2 separate regions of the Homo sapiens genome follow, and region 2 is linked to region 1. The links are contacts of gene promoters, found by promoter capture Hi-C in blood cells and fetal thymus (Javierre and others, 2016). All regions are on one chromosome and are shown on one strand. The core of a region is centred on a gene start or on the middle of the fragment in contact, and the rest is flanking DNA. Distances in the headings are between cores, read along the strand shown.

Evidence for each region. Contacts are between HindIII fragments. The CHiCAGO score rates a contact against its expected background, and 5 or more counts as called.
Region 2: a contact is called between a fragment that was not itself captured here and the fragment with the promoter of LAP3 in region 1, in 13 of 17 cell types (total B cells, fetal thymus, neutrophils and 10 more). The highest score is 11.2, in total B cells.

Annotation. Positions count from the first base shown.
Region 1 is chr4:17,572,345-17,578,447 of GRCh38, forward strand. LAP3 (leucine aminopeptidase 3) reads left to right here and starts at 4,854. Exons shown (of 13, transcript NM_015907.3): 1 at 4,854-5,223. The coding sequence starts at 5,122. RefSeq lists enhancers at 4,502-4,861, 5,202-5,401 and a silencer at 4,922-5,131. The HindIII fragment of the contact is 2,285 bases long and covers 3,552-5,836 here.
Region 2 is chr4:17,793,940-17,800,042 of GRCh38, forward strand. It overlaps a transcript of DCAF16 not described here. Among named protein-coding and RNA genes, the nearest start is that of DCAF16, 14 kb to the right of the region's middle. The HindIII fragment of the contact is 264 bases long and covers 3,280-3,543 here.

The DNA.
Region 1 (6,103 bases), core at 3,604-6,103:
GTTCAGGCGAATTCTCCTGCCTCAGCTCCCCCAGTAGCTGGGATTACAGGCGTGCACCACCACAGCCCACTAATTTTTTTATTTTTTTTGTTTGTTTTGAGATGGAGTCTCGCTCTGTTGCCCAGGCTGGAGTGCAGTGGCGCAATCTCGGCTTACTGCAAGCTCCGCCTCCTGGGTTCATGTCATTGTCCTGCCTCAGCCTCCCCGAGTAGCTGGGACTACAGGCGCCTGCCACCACGCCCAGCTAATTTTTTTTTTGTACTTTTAGTAGAGACGGGGTTTCACCGTGTTAGCCAGGATAGTCTTGATCTTCTGACCTCGTGATCCACCTGCCTCGGCCTCCCAAAGTGCCGGGATTACAGGCGTGAGCCACTGCGCCTGGCAATTTTTGTATTTTTAGTACAGACAGGGTTTCACCATATTGAACCAGGCTGGTCTTGAACTCCTGACCTCAGGTGATCCGCCCGCCTTGGCCTCCCAAAGTGCTAGGATTACAGGCATCAGCCACGGCACCCAGCTCAGCGCTTCTCACTTTCTGACCCACTACCCACCAAATTATCCTTAAAAACTCTGAACCCCAAATTTTCATGGAGATTGACTTGAGTAATAATAAAACTGTGGTTTTCCATACAGCCAGCTCTGTGTGAATTAAACTCTTTTTCTGTTGCAAATTCCTTGTCTTGATAAATTGGCTCTGTTTAGGCAGCGGGCAAGGAGAACCCATTGAACAGTTGCAAGAATACAGGTGATTGGCACTTTGAGACAGGTCGCTTTGGGAGCAGAGGGAGGGCACATAACCCAGACAGGGAAGGTCAGCAAGTATTTCTTGGAAGAAGTGGCATTGGTCAAGCAAAGAAGGGAGCAGAAGGAACAGGAGCATATGCACATATAACTCTGTGAAACACTGCCTTTTCTTTTTTTATAACAATATTTTTACAATCACCATATCTCTTGCCTCTACTAGATAATAGAGGACAGCAGAATATAAAACTTTGACATAAAGATTTTTTTGAGCTAAAGGCACTTAAAATACAGCAGATGCAAGAAGGGTACTCTGGCCTCTCTTTACTTCCTGAAAGCAGGAGATCAGCTCTCATGTGAATGCTGCCCTCCCTGCACCAGAAAGAAAGGAACATTATCACCAAAGAGGGAGAGTCAAGGCCGAGAGAAATCTGTACAAACAACTCTTGTTAGACTAACCTTTATTTCCTTTAGTTTTCCCATATAAATATACTTTTTCAAAATTACTATTTTTGTTCAACCTAGTATATGAGCACTTAGGCCTAACCATTTTGGGGGGTCTCGATTTTCCTGTAAGGGCTTCCAAGTACGTGCAAAACTATTAAATAAAATTTATATGTGTGTGTGTGTGTGTGTGTGTGTGTGTATATATATATATATATATGATTATTATTATTTTTTGAGACAGGGTCTCATTCTGTTACCCAGGCTGGAGTGCACTGGCACAATCATGCCTCACTGAAGCCTCAATCTCCCAGGTTCAAGTGATCCTCCTACCTCAGTCTCCCGAGCAGCTGGCACTACAAGCATGCACCACCACATATGGCTGTTTTTTTTGTATTTTTTGTACAGACAGGGTTTTGCCATGTTGCCCAGGCTGGTCTCGAACTCCTGGGCTCAAGCGATCCACCTGCCTTGGCCTCCCAAAGAGCTGGGATTACAGGTGTGAGCCACTGTGCCCAGCCAATTAATATGTTTTTCTCGTTAATCTGTCTTATGTCAACTTAATTCTCAGGCCCAGCTGGAGACCCTAAGATGGTAGAGGTTAAGTTTTGCCCCCTCTACAATAATAAAATCCTTGAAGACAGGGACACTGTTTTAGATTCTTTTTTATCCCATGATTTCTAACAGAAAAACATCTTAAGCACCTTGTAAACTTAGGGTTTGAAGGATGACTAAATCTTTCATCCCAAAGTGATCCACAATCCTGATTATTTGTAGACTGTGAAATGTACTTTTCTTTTGTACCATTAGGCATGTGAAAATGTAAATGGTGTGGTCCTTGAAGCAAAGAGAAAAGTAAATGATACACCAGAGTCTCAGGCTGGACCCGCAAGTCAATAAAACAGGTAATAAATTCAGCTGAGCAGATACAGACAAGGGTAACCTACAGCTCTGAGGCTTGGATGCCTCTGAAGCTCAGAGACCCTCTACTCACATACCAAGGAGGGGACAGGTTTTCGCATTCCATTTTTTAGTTTCAGAAACTGCGGCCTGATCTATCACGTTGGAAGGAGGGAAGAGCTGTAAAGTGAATGTAAAGATTTCGCTGTCTTTGGAGCAAATATAGATAAAATTTGGTGAGTTTATTGAGTTTATGATGCAACTCCATTTTAACTATCTAGAGAAGGTGGAAGCCAGAGTGGACCTACCAGTCCAACCCACTCAGCCTTCAAGAGAGGAAGATCAAATCTCTCCTCTGGAGTGTCTAGCTCTTGGAGAGTGAAATAGACATTCTTTCTTTCCTGCAACTGAGCTCAAGGTGAAGACTTTGCTCACTGCAGCTGGTGTAAGCCTCCCCACACCCCTGCACCTCAGCTAAAATTGCAATCAGATCAACAGTGGTGTAATTTTTTTAAAAAGAGATGGGGTCTTGCTCTGTGACCTAAGCTGGAGTGTAGTAGTACAATTATGGCTCACTGCAGACTCAACCTCCCAGGCTCAAGCAAACCTCCTACCTCAGTCTCCCCATTAGCGGGACTACAGGCACACATCTGGCTAATTTTTTAACTTTTTGTAGAGATGGGTATCTCACTACCTTGCCCAGGGTGGTCTTGAACTCCTGGGCTGAGTCGATCCTCCCACCTCGGCCTCCCAAAGTCCTGGGATTATAAGCATGAGTCACTGCACCCAGCTGGCTGGTGTCATTATTAAGAACAATTTTTGTATCCCTCCTCGTGCTTACCCATATTCTCCGAGTTGCATTCAGCTGTGTACTTTTTTACAATGAGAAATTTAAAACCAGCCGGGCGCGGTGGTTCACGCCCGTAATCCCAGCAATTTGGGAGGCCAGGGCGGGTGGATCACTTGAGGTCAGTACTTCAAGACCCACCTGGCCAACATGGTGAAACTCCATCTCTACTGAAAATACAAAAATTAGCCAGGCGTGTTGGCGGGCGCCTGTAATCCCAACTACTTGGGAGGCTGAGGCAGGAGAATCGCTGGAACCCAGGGGTGGAGGTTGCAATAAGCTGAGATCACACCAGTGCACTCCAGCCTGGGTGACAGAGCAAGACTCCGTTAAAAAAAAAAAAGTAAAAAATAAGGAATTAAAAAAAACAAAACGCTTTACAGAAAATAAAAATATATAAAAATATTGAGCACTACTTGAAAACTTTCTATTGAAACCATCCCCACTGTGTTGACAAAAATTTCATGCCAAGTTCTAGGCAGAAATATAGTTATAATTAAGCATTAATCAGGCTGTACTTTGGCCCACTTCCTTGTTGCTAAAAGTCACCTAGCACTACATACTGACCATTTGCATTCCCATTGTTCCTATAGACAGGATCTCTGACATTAGAATCATAAGCTTTCTGTTTAAGGATCGCTTAAGATATTTTTCAGACCTTGAATTCCAGCTACCAGTTTGAAGATCCCCAGAGAGGAATGGGGTCAGCTTAAGAATACAGGTTCTTCAACGCCCTGTCCCATGACTTCACCCTGCACTCTTCAATCAACGATCTCCACACTATAGCCCTCTCCAAAACCCTTAAAAACCTTGACCCCAAATTCCTCAGGGAGATGGATTTGAGGTTTCCTCCCATCTCCTCCTTTGGCGACTCCACGATTACACCTCTTTCTCTGCTGCAACCCTGGTGTCTGGGCGTATTGACTTGCTATGTGCACGAGTCAACGAACCTAATAGTGTTACATCATTTTCAAAAACAGTATTTACACCGTTGCACCTGTGGAACAGATGAAAGGACACGAATAAAAATAACTCAGGCCAGGTGCGGTGGCTCACGCCTGTAATCCCAGCACTTAGCGAGGCCGAGGCAAGTGGATCACGAGGTCAGGACTTCGAGACCAGCCTGGACAACATGGTGAAACCTCGTCTCTACTAAAAATACAAAGAGTTGCCGGGCACGGTGGCTCACGCCTGTAAGTAATCCCAGCACTTTGGCAGGCTGAGGCGGGTGTATCACCAGAGGTCAGGAGTTCAAAGCCAGCCTGGCTAACATGGCCAAACACTGTCTCTACTAAAAATACAAAGATTAGCCAGGTGTGGTGGTGGGCGCCTGTAGTCCCAACTACTCGGGAGGCTGAGGCAGGAGAATCTGTTGAACCCGAAAGGCGGAGGTTGCAGTGAGCCGAGATTGCGCCACTGCACTCCAGCCAGGGCTACAAGAGCGAGACTCCGCCTCAAAAAAAAAATCCAAAAAAACAACAAAAAAACACAAAGATTAGCTGGGCGTGGTGGCGGGCGCCCCTAATCCCAGCTACTCGGGAGGACGAGGCAGGAGAATCGTTTCAACTAAGCAGCGGGAGGTTGCAGTGAGCCGAGATCGCTCCATTGCACTCCAACCTGGGTGACAGAGCGAGACTCCGACTCAAAAAAACCAAACAAACAAACGAAAACTCAGTGGGAGTGTCTTCACTATGCAGTCGTCTATTCAGCAACCTTGACAACAAGCTCTGGCACTCAGTTTCTATTTCCCGGGAGTTGCCCAGCGCTCCGCCCACGCCCGCTTGCAGAACTCGCCCCGCCTCCGCCCCACCCATCGTGTGACGTCACCATATCGGTCCCGCCCCTCTACTTCGCGTTGCTCCCGGGACTGTCAACCGCGTCCGGAAGCCCCGCCTTTTCGCCCCCGCCCGCATGCGCGGGCGCACACGAATGCGGGCGCACACGAATGCGGGCGCACACGAATGCGGGCGCACCCTTGAGTCCCCTCCACAACCGCGGTTTGATCCCAGCGGTCCAGTCGGCCGGTGCTGCCCATCCGTCCCGCCCCCTAGACGCACGTCCGCTCGCCCGGCGCCCGAGCCAGTCCGCGCGCACGCCGTCTGCGCCCCGAAAGCCCCGCCCCAAGGCGCGCCCGCCCACCGCTCTCCACGTGCTCGCTGGAGGGCGGTGCGAGGGGCCGAGCCGACAAGATGTTCTTGCTGCCTCTTCCGGCTGCGGGGCGAGTAGTCGTCCGACGTCTGGCCGTGAGACGTTTCGGGAGCCGGAGTCTCTCCACCGCAGACATGACGAAGGTGAGAGGCGGCGGCTCGCTCATGGTCCGCCGCTGGGGCCCTGCCCGTGGGCTACTGGGGCTGCGGGGCTGGTCGAAGCCGCGGTGTCCTGGGCGCCCAAGCCAAGTTGCAAAAATCAGTTTAAAAGAAAAATTCTCTCCTTGCGGGGATCGGCCTAGGCCGCTGAGGACCCCAGCGGTCGTATTGAGGGCGCGATTCCCCTGCTCGGGGCTAGGGGGTGATGGTTGTAGCCGCCCTTTACCCGGCTCCACTCGGCCGCGCACTTGCTCCAGTCGTCACCCGCGGTCCTGGCAGTAACCCGGGGAAAGACGCGGCGGTGGGGCTCCCATCCGAGCTTGGAGGAAGCCCGAGTTTGCCAAGGTGAAAGGGTTTCTGAGGTCCCAGAGTCACAGGGCTCCTTCCCCCGCGGAAGTGAAAGGTCAGGGAGTTAAGTAGCTTGGAAGGGTTTCTAGAGGAAAAGCATGCCTCTCTAGAGAAAAGGGCTTTGGGGAGAGACCCACGTTTCCCAGAATTAAGAGCATCTTCCAGAAGAAAAGTGAACTCCAAAAAATTACGAAGGTCGCTCTTCAGATGTGAAGGATCTGCAAAGGGAATGGCTCTCGGAACCAGCACAAGCTTGGGAGTCATGCCTAAGCACCAGAAAGAGATGACTGTCCCTGCAGAAGAACGTTCTAGGGGGAGCTTGAGCTCCAGTCTCCTGCAGGTATCTCAGTGGTGGAGGGACCAGTCGCCTGACCAGTGCTATCTCCAGTACTGTGCCACAGCCTACCCAGATAACAGTTGCTCAGTTGGCTCCATTGATTCCCGGGGAGTGAACAATCTTAGGGAAGTTAGAACCTGGCAGAGTTACCAATGCCAAGGAAGGCCGTTTTCTTTGGTG
Region 2 (6,103 bases), core at 2,162-4,661, 220 kb after region 1:
TCACTTGCAAGTAAATAAAAATTCACTCTCAGACTATGTAATATTAACATAAACAAAGCAAAGAAAAAAACCCTGAATCATGACTCATAAGGAAACATCTAAAATATTATATAGGAATATATTATGGACCAGCCACTGTATGTAACCATATCTTGATAGCAAAAATAGCATGGAAGATGAAAAACAGTATCGAATTTCAGAATATTATTTTTAAAAAGTAGATACAGGTTGAGTATCCCTTATCTGAAATGTGTGGGAACAGAAGTGCTTCAGATTTAACTTTTTCAGATTTTGGAATATTTACATATACATAATGAGATATCTTTGGGATGGGAAGTCTAAACATGAAATTCATTCATGTTTCATATATACATAGCTTGAAGGTAATTTTATACAGTAGTTTTAATAAACTGTTGTGTGCCTTTGTTTTGACTGACCTGTCACATGAGGTCAGGTGTGAAATTCTCCATTTGTGCTGTCATGTTGGCACTCAAAAAGTTTTGGATTTTGGAGCATTTCAGATTTCAAATTTTTGGATTAGGAATGCTCAACCTGTAATTCTTTATGCTTTTGATTCTACAGAGGCTAAAATTTAAACAAAAAGCTTGCTGAAATTACTGCTATAGACTATGCATTATTTCTGTAAATAAATACAAAATTGAGATTTCCCTAAGCAAATCAAATACGAAAACAAATTGAAAAACTTTTTATTTTCTAAAAATATCTTCTGTGGCGCACATCTTATTGAAGTCAGCATCTACTGCAATTGTGGAGTATTATGCCGTAAGGACCAATCTAATTATAGCTGACAAGACTCCAATTTGCCTATACTTTTAATGTCAAATTTTTAAAAAACTGATTACTAAATAACATACTTTCTAAGAAATAAAATTTCAAATTTCCTGCTTATTTATACACTTTCCATTGTACTCAAATACTTTGTTCCCAGTTTTCCTAGATACCTACTTCCTGGAACCTCTGTCCTACTTACTTGACACAGTAGTCATCCTGGGACTTTCCTCGTTTTCCTTTGTGACATCTTTTAGTTTCAGGATCCCATGCCTTCTCAGATTACTCCCTCATTTTGGTAAAGCACATCCTCCAAGTGGCTTCCTAAGAAAAGGTAGATGGTGAGATAAAATTCTGAGACCATGCAAGTCTTAAGGTATCTTTATTTTAGCCCCACTCTTGATTGGATTATTTGAGTACAAAATTCTGCGTTGGAAATCATTTCTTTTTAAATTTAAAGACCTTGCTTTCATAGTCTTTCCGCATCCAGTGTTGCTACCAAGAAATCTAAATGCCATTTTGAAAACGTATCCTTTTTATGTAACTTTCTCCGCTACATTTATTGGGAAGCTTTTAGGTCCTTCCATAACTCTAGCATTCTGAAATATCCTAACAATGTGCTTTGGTATTTTTTAATTCATTTCACAGGGCACTTAGTGGACCCTTTTAATTTAGAAGACTAAAGTCTTATTATTTCCGGGAAATGTTATTTTAATTTTTTTCTCTCTTCACCTTCTTTCTCTGTTCTCTCATTTTGGAACTCATTTATTAGATGTTGCATCTTATTCAGGTTTAAGTTTCTTTTTTGTTCTTGCCTGCTTTTCATCTCTTTGTTCTACTTTTTAAAATTTCTTCAAGTTATTTTCTAATACATCTACTGAATGTTTACTTTTGGTTTCCTGTTTTTCCAATAGCTTTTGTTTTTGGATTGGTCATTTTTTAAAATAGCATCCTGATCCTATTTGATGGAAGCAGTATATTCCTTTCTGAGAATATCACAGCTTCTTTATGTTCATCTTTCATGTTGAAGGTTTCCTCAAATATCTAGTGATCCTTGGCTATCTGTGTACAGTGATTCCAAGTGACTGAAAGCTGTATATGAAGGAGCAGGCCTTGTGGACTCTCAGTTTCACTGTAACAAATAATCGAGGGTCAAGCTGTTTTTTTACTGCTTGTCTTTTTCGGTCAGGTGAGCAGGGCTGGGTATAAGCCCCATTGCCAGATTCTGTAGCCAGGTGGAGAAAAGTGGACTGGAGGCTCATAATGTTCAGAATACTCACATTCTGTTAATCATTTTGTCTTCCATATAGCACATCACTACCATTACCATCCTCCCCCTGTCCTCAGTTCTAAGTCTGTTTGGTTTAATTTCTCCAGACAATAAGGCTTCAGTCATCTGCTAGAGAGATAGCTGCCTGCCTACAAAAGAAGAGCAAAAATAAATGTTCAAATAATCCCCTTGTTTCAACTTTCTTTATTACTCCCACCTTCCAGGGTACCTTGTGCCTTTAAATCCTCAAGTCTTTTGGGGGTTCTGGAAGGCAAAGATAGGTGTTCCAAATTTGTGAACCTTTTCTGTGATGAAGAATGGGTATCATAACTGTGCTACCTATCGAGTATTTTTTGTTTTTAAAGAGTGATATACTTTCCCTTCATGGTAAAGAAGAGTGAGAAAGTAACTGCTTAAAACACACACAGATGGCCAGGTGCGGTGGCTCACGCCTGTAATTCCAGCACTTTGGGAGGCTCAGGTGGGTGGATCATGAGGTCAGGAGATTGAGACCATCCTGGCCAACATGGTGAAACCATCTCTACTAAAATACAAAAAATTAGCTGGGCATGGTGGTGCGCACCTGTAGTCCCAGCTACTCAGGAGGCCAAGGCAGGGAAATTGCTTGAACACAGGAGGTGGAGATTGCAGTGAGCCGAGATCGCACCACTGCGTTCCAGCCTGGCGACAGGGTGAGTCTCCATCTCACAACGACAACAAACCACAAACCCAAACTACCTGCTGTTGAGACAGCATTTAAAAAATTTGTGTTTGCAAATATTGTAATGGTTATGTGGTTATTTTAGCTAAATACCACGTGTCTCCTATAAAAACTCTCATATCTGCAATTGGGCCTCCTCTTCTGACACTCAACAACAGTTCTAAGAAATAAATAAATAAATATATAAGAAATACAACTTGGGTCAACTATGTGTGAGCCTTCCTTGCCCCCAGTCTCTTATTATTAAATATTATTATTTTAGAGATGGGCGGTTGCTCTGGTGCCCATGTTGGAGTGCAGTGGCATGACCATAACCCACTGCAACCTCAAACTCCTCAGCTCAAGCAATCCTCCCAATTTAGCCTCCTGAGTAGCTAGGACTACGGGTGTGCACCAGCACTGCTCCTGGCTACTAGTCAATTACTTAGACATAAGAAAACAACACATACTGGAAAGAGTCAAGACAGTTCCTGGGAACAACTACATAGACTAAAACCCAAGCTTAATCCATGCCACTAACATATTTATAGGGTTGCAGATAAAATGCAGGAAACTAAATTTGAATTTCAGATAAATAACATAACTTTTTTTCTGGTATATGTGCCATATTTCATTATTTTTCTGAAATTCAAATGTATTCGGGTGTCCTGTATTTCTTTTTGCTACATCAGGCAACCCAACCCATTTAAAGAAACGTGTCCCAAGTAGGATGTGACAACACAGAAAAACTGCATTCAAAGAAGGAAACTGGGGTCTGGTCCAAAGCTTTCAAGCCATGGGAGTCTACTTAAGTACCAAGTAGGTAGACAGGGATCAATATCATATAACACACTTTGCAGTAAGTCTACATGGAATGCATTGTCTGTGGCCAACATTAATGCCAGCTTTCAATTGATTCAGAAATTAGAGTTCTTCAGGTAGTGGCTGCACCCTTCTTTCACCAGAGCTCTGCCAGTCTATCAGGCCATTCTGGTTACTCAGGGTGCAACCAGAAAGCCCACCTAGGGTCTTTTTTGATGGAAGATGGCCATGCCCTTGGGCTGTTCCACTTGTTTGGGTACCTCTCAAAGAAGTTGCCCCTACTGGTCCATTGCTTAATTAATTTATTGTAAACCAAAACCATCAGCTGATACATTGGAGTGTCAGGTGCCACAGCTGATACCATAGATGGAAGGGTAGTATCAGGCATAGGCTGAGCAGTTAACCCAAACTTAACAATTTCTCCCCAAATAAAACTATAGTACCAGCTCCTTATTTTGCAACACTCATTTGAGGAGTTTCATCTGGTTTCTGTTGCTAATTTGAGAAACTAGCTTGGTTTATGTGTATACTAGGAAGTCAGTTTTAATCTTGTTAAGCTAACCAGTATCCTGAGTCCCTCCTGAATGATTGTTGTTATATAGAGCCTAACTCCCCTAATGATCCCAGGAATTTTCATATCACGTGTCAGAATCTTCCTAAATAAACTGCCCAAATTCCAGTCAACTTCGTTTTATGATTCAACTTGAAACTGTTGCTAACGTTTTTAACTGACTCCACAGTTTAGAAGAAATAACCCTATCGCTGTCTTCCTGTTACACTGTTATTTTCCTTTTTTTTTTTTTTTTTTTTTATACCAGGTACCAGTGTAACACCAGCACTTTGGGAGGCTGATGTGGGAGGATCACTTGAGCTCAGGAGTTCCTGACCAGCCTGAGTGAAACTGCCTCTACAAAGAAATACAAAAATTGGCCTGTGTGGTGGTGTGCACCTGTAGTCCACAGCTACTGATGAGGCTGAGGTGGGAGGATGGCTTGAGCCCAGGAGGTCGAGGCTGCGGTGAGCCAAGATTATGCCCCTGCACTCCAGCCTAGGCAAGAGCGAAACCCTGTGTCAAAAAAATAAAAAAATAATAATAATAATAAAAGAAAACCAGGCATTCATTTTCCAGAGCTCATTGAGAATAGCTGGTCATAGCTCTCACAGAAGATGGGAAGCCAGCAAGTGTCAGGTCACTGTGGTATATCCTCATCCTTTCCATTTCTTGGTCTCAGTTGCAAACTTAAGTCTCACTGCGGCTGCTAATTGAAAGGAAGAGCTTGGCAAACTGCATGGAATTAGCAGACTCAAATATGTAGTCATTAACTCAACTGTATTTAAAATTATTTGAGACACATCATAGACATTTTTCTTTTAGCAACAGCAAGTTGACATAGAAGTACTGGTGGTTGGTCCAGCTAATGTAACTCCCTCAGTCCAATGGGTATCACTGGCGGACAGATACGTTACCAGCTTGCACAGTTAACTCATGAAGTCTGAGAAGTTATCCATACTTCTCAGGCTGTTCTATATGTCCTAGCTACCTGAGCAAAACACTTTTGGCCCTGATCTTTGTGCCACTACCTTGTGATTAGCAGATATAATTTAAATCTGGATACAAAATATCTATATATTTTCTCCATTTCCTTGGCTGAGTATCCGTTGTGGGGGTTTAATTGAAGTCTGCCCTCCAGATGAATCTTCATTATACTTGGATGGCTGCTCCATTCAATTCTTTTATATGATTCTCCACTATAAGCTATTTTCAATATGTGAAGGGCCAACATATGGATTAGGGTTTAGGTTTATTTAATATGACCCTAGACAGCAGAAATGGCTTGGGGTAACATATAGGTTCATATATTTTAAAACTAATTTCCTATGTGTAGTAATCTTATTTAGTTTTGCATTCCCAGTGTCTGCACTAGAGTAGGCACTTCTCCATAGCAATATTGGATGAATGGCTAAATTTCTAACAAGAGATATTTAAAACTAACAGGCTGCTCCAAAAGACATATTCTCTAACACTGGAGCCAAAAGTAGAAAGCCAGATGCAAGCCAACTTACGCATCAGAAAATAACCCAAGTGACTTCTAAAGTCTTTAAATGCTTTAGCTATTTACACTATCAAAACATTTTCATCAGAGACTTTTTTTTTAAAATATGGACAGGTGTGATAGAAGACCCAGCAGGAAGGGCTTCTATCCCCTAGAGGGGACCTATCATATGCCCTCCTGCCATGCATGTATGGATTTTTTTCTTTTCTTAGGAAGCAGATGGGATTAAAAGACGTGATTATGGTCTTTGAGGCTCAAGGTATCTGGACTGTTTTAATAAAAATGTTGCCTATGGCTGGGCACGGTGGCTCATGCCTGTAATCCCAGCACTTTGGGAGGCTGAGGTGGGTGGATCACCTGAAGTCAGGAGTTAGAGACCAGCCTGACCAATTGAGAAACCCCATCTCTACTAAAAATACAAAATTAGCTGGGCGTGGTGGCACATGCCTGTAATTCCAGCTACTCGGG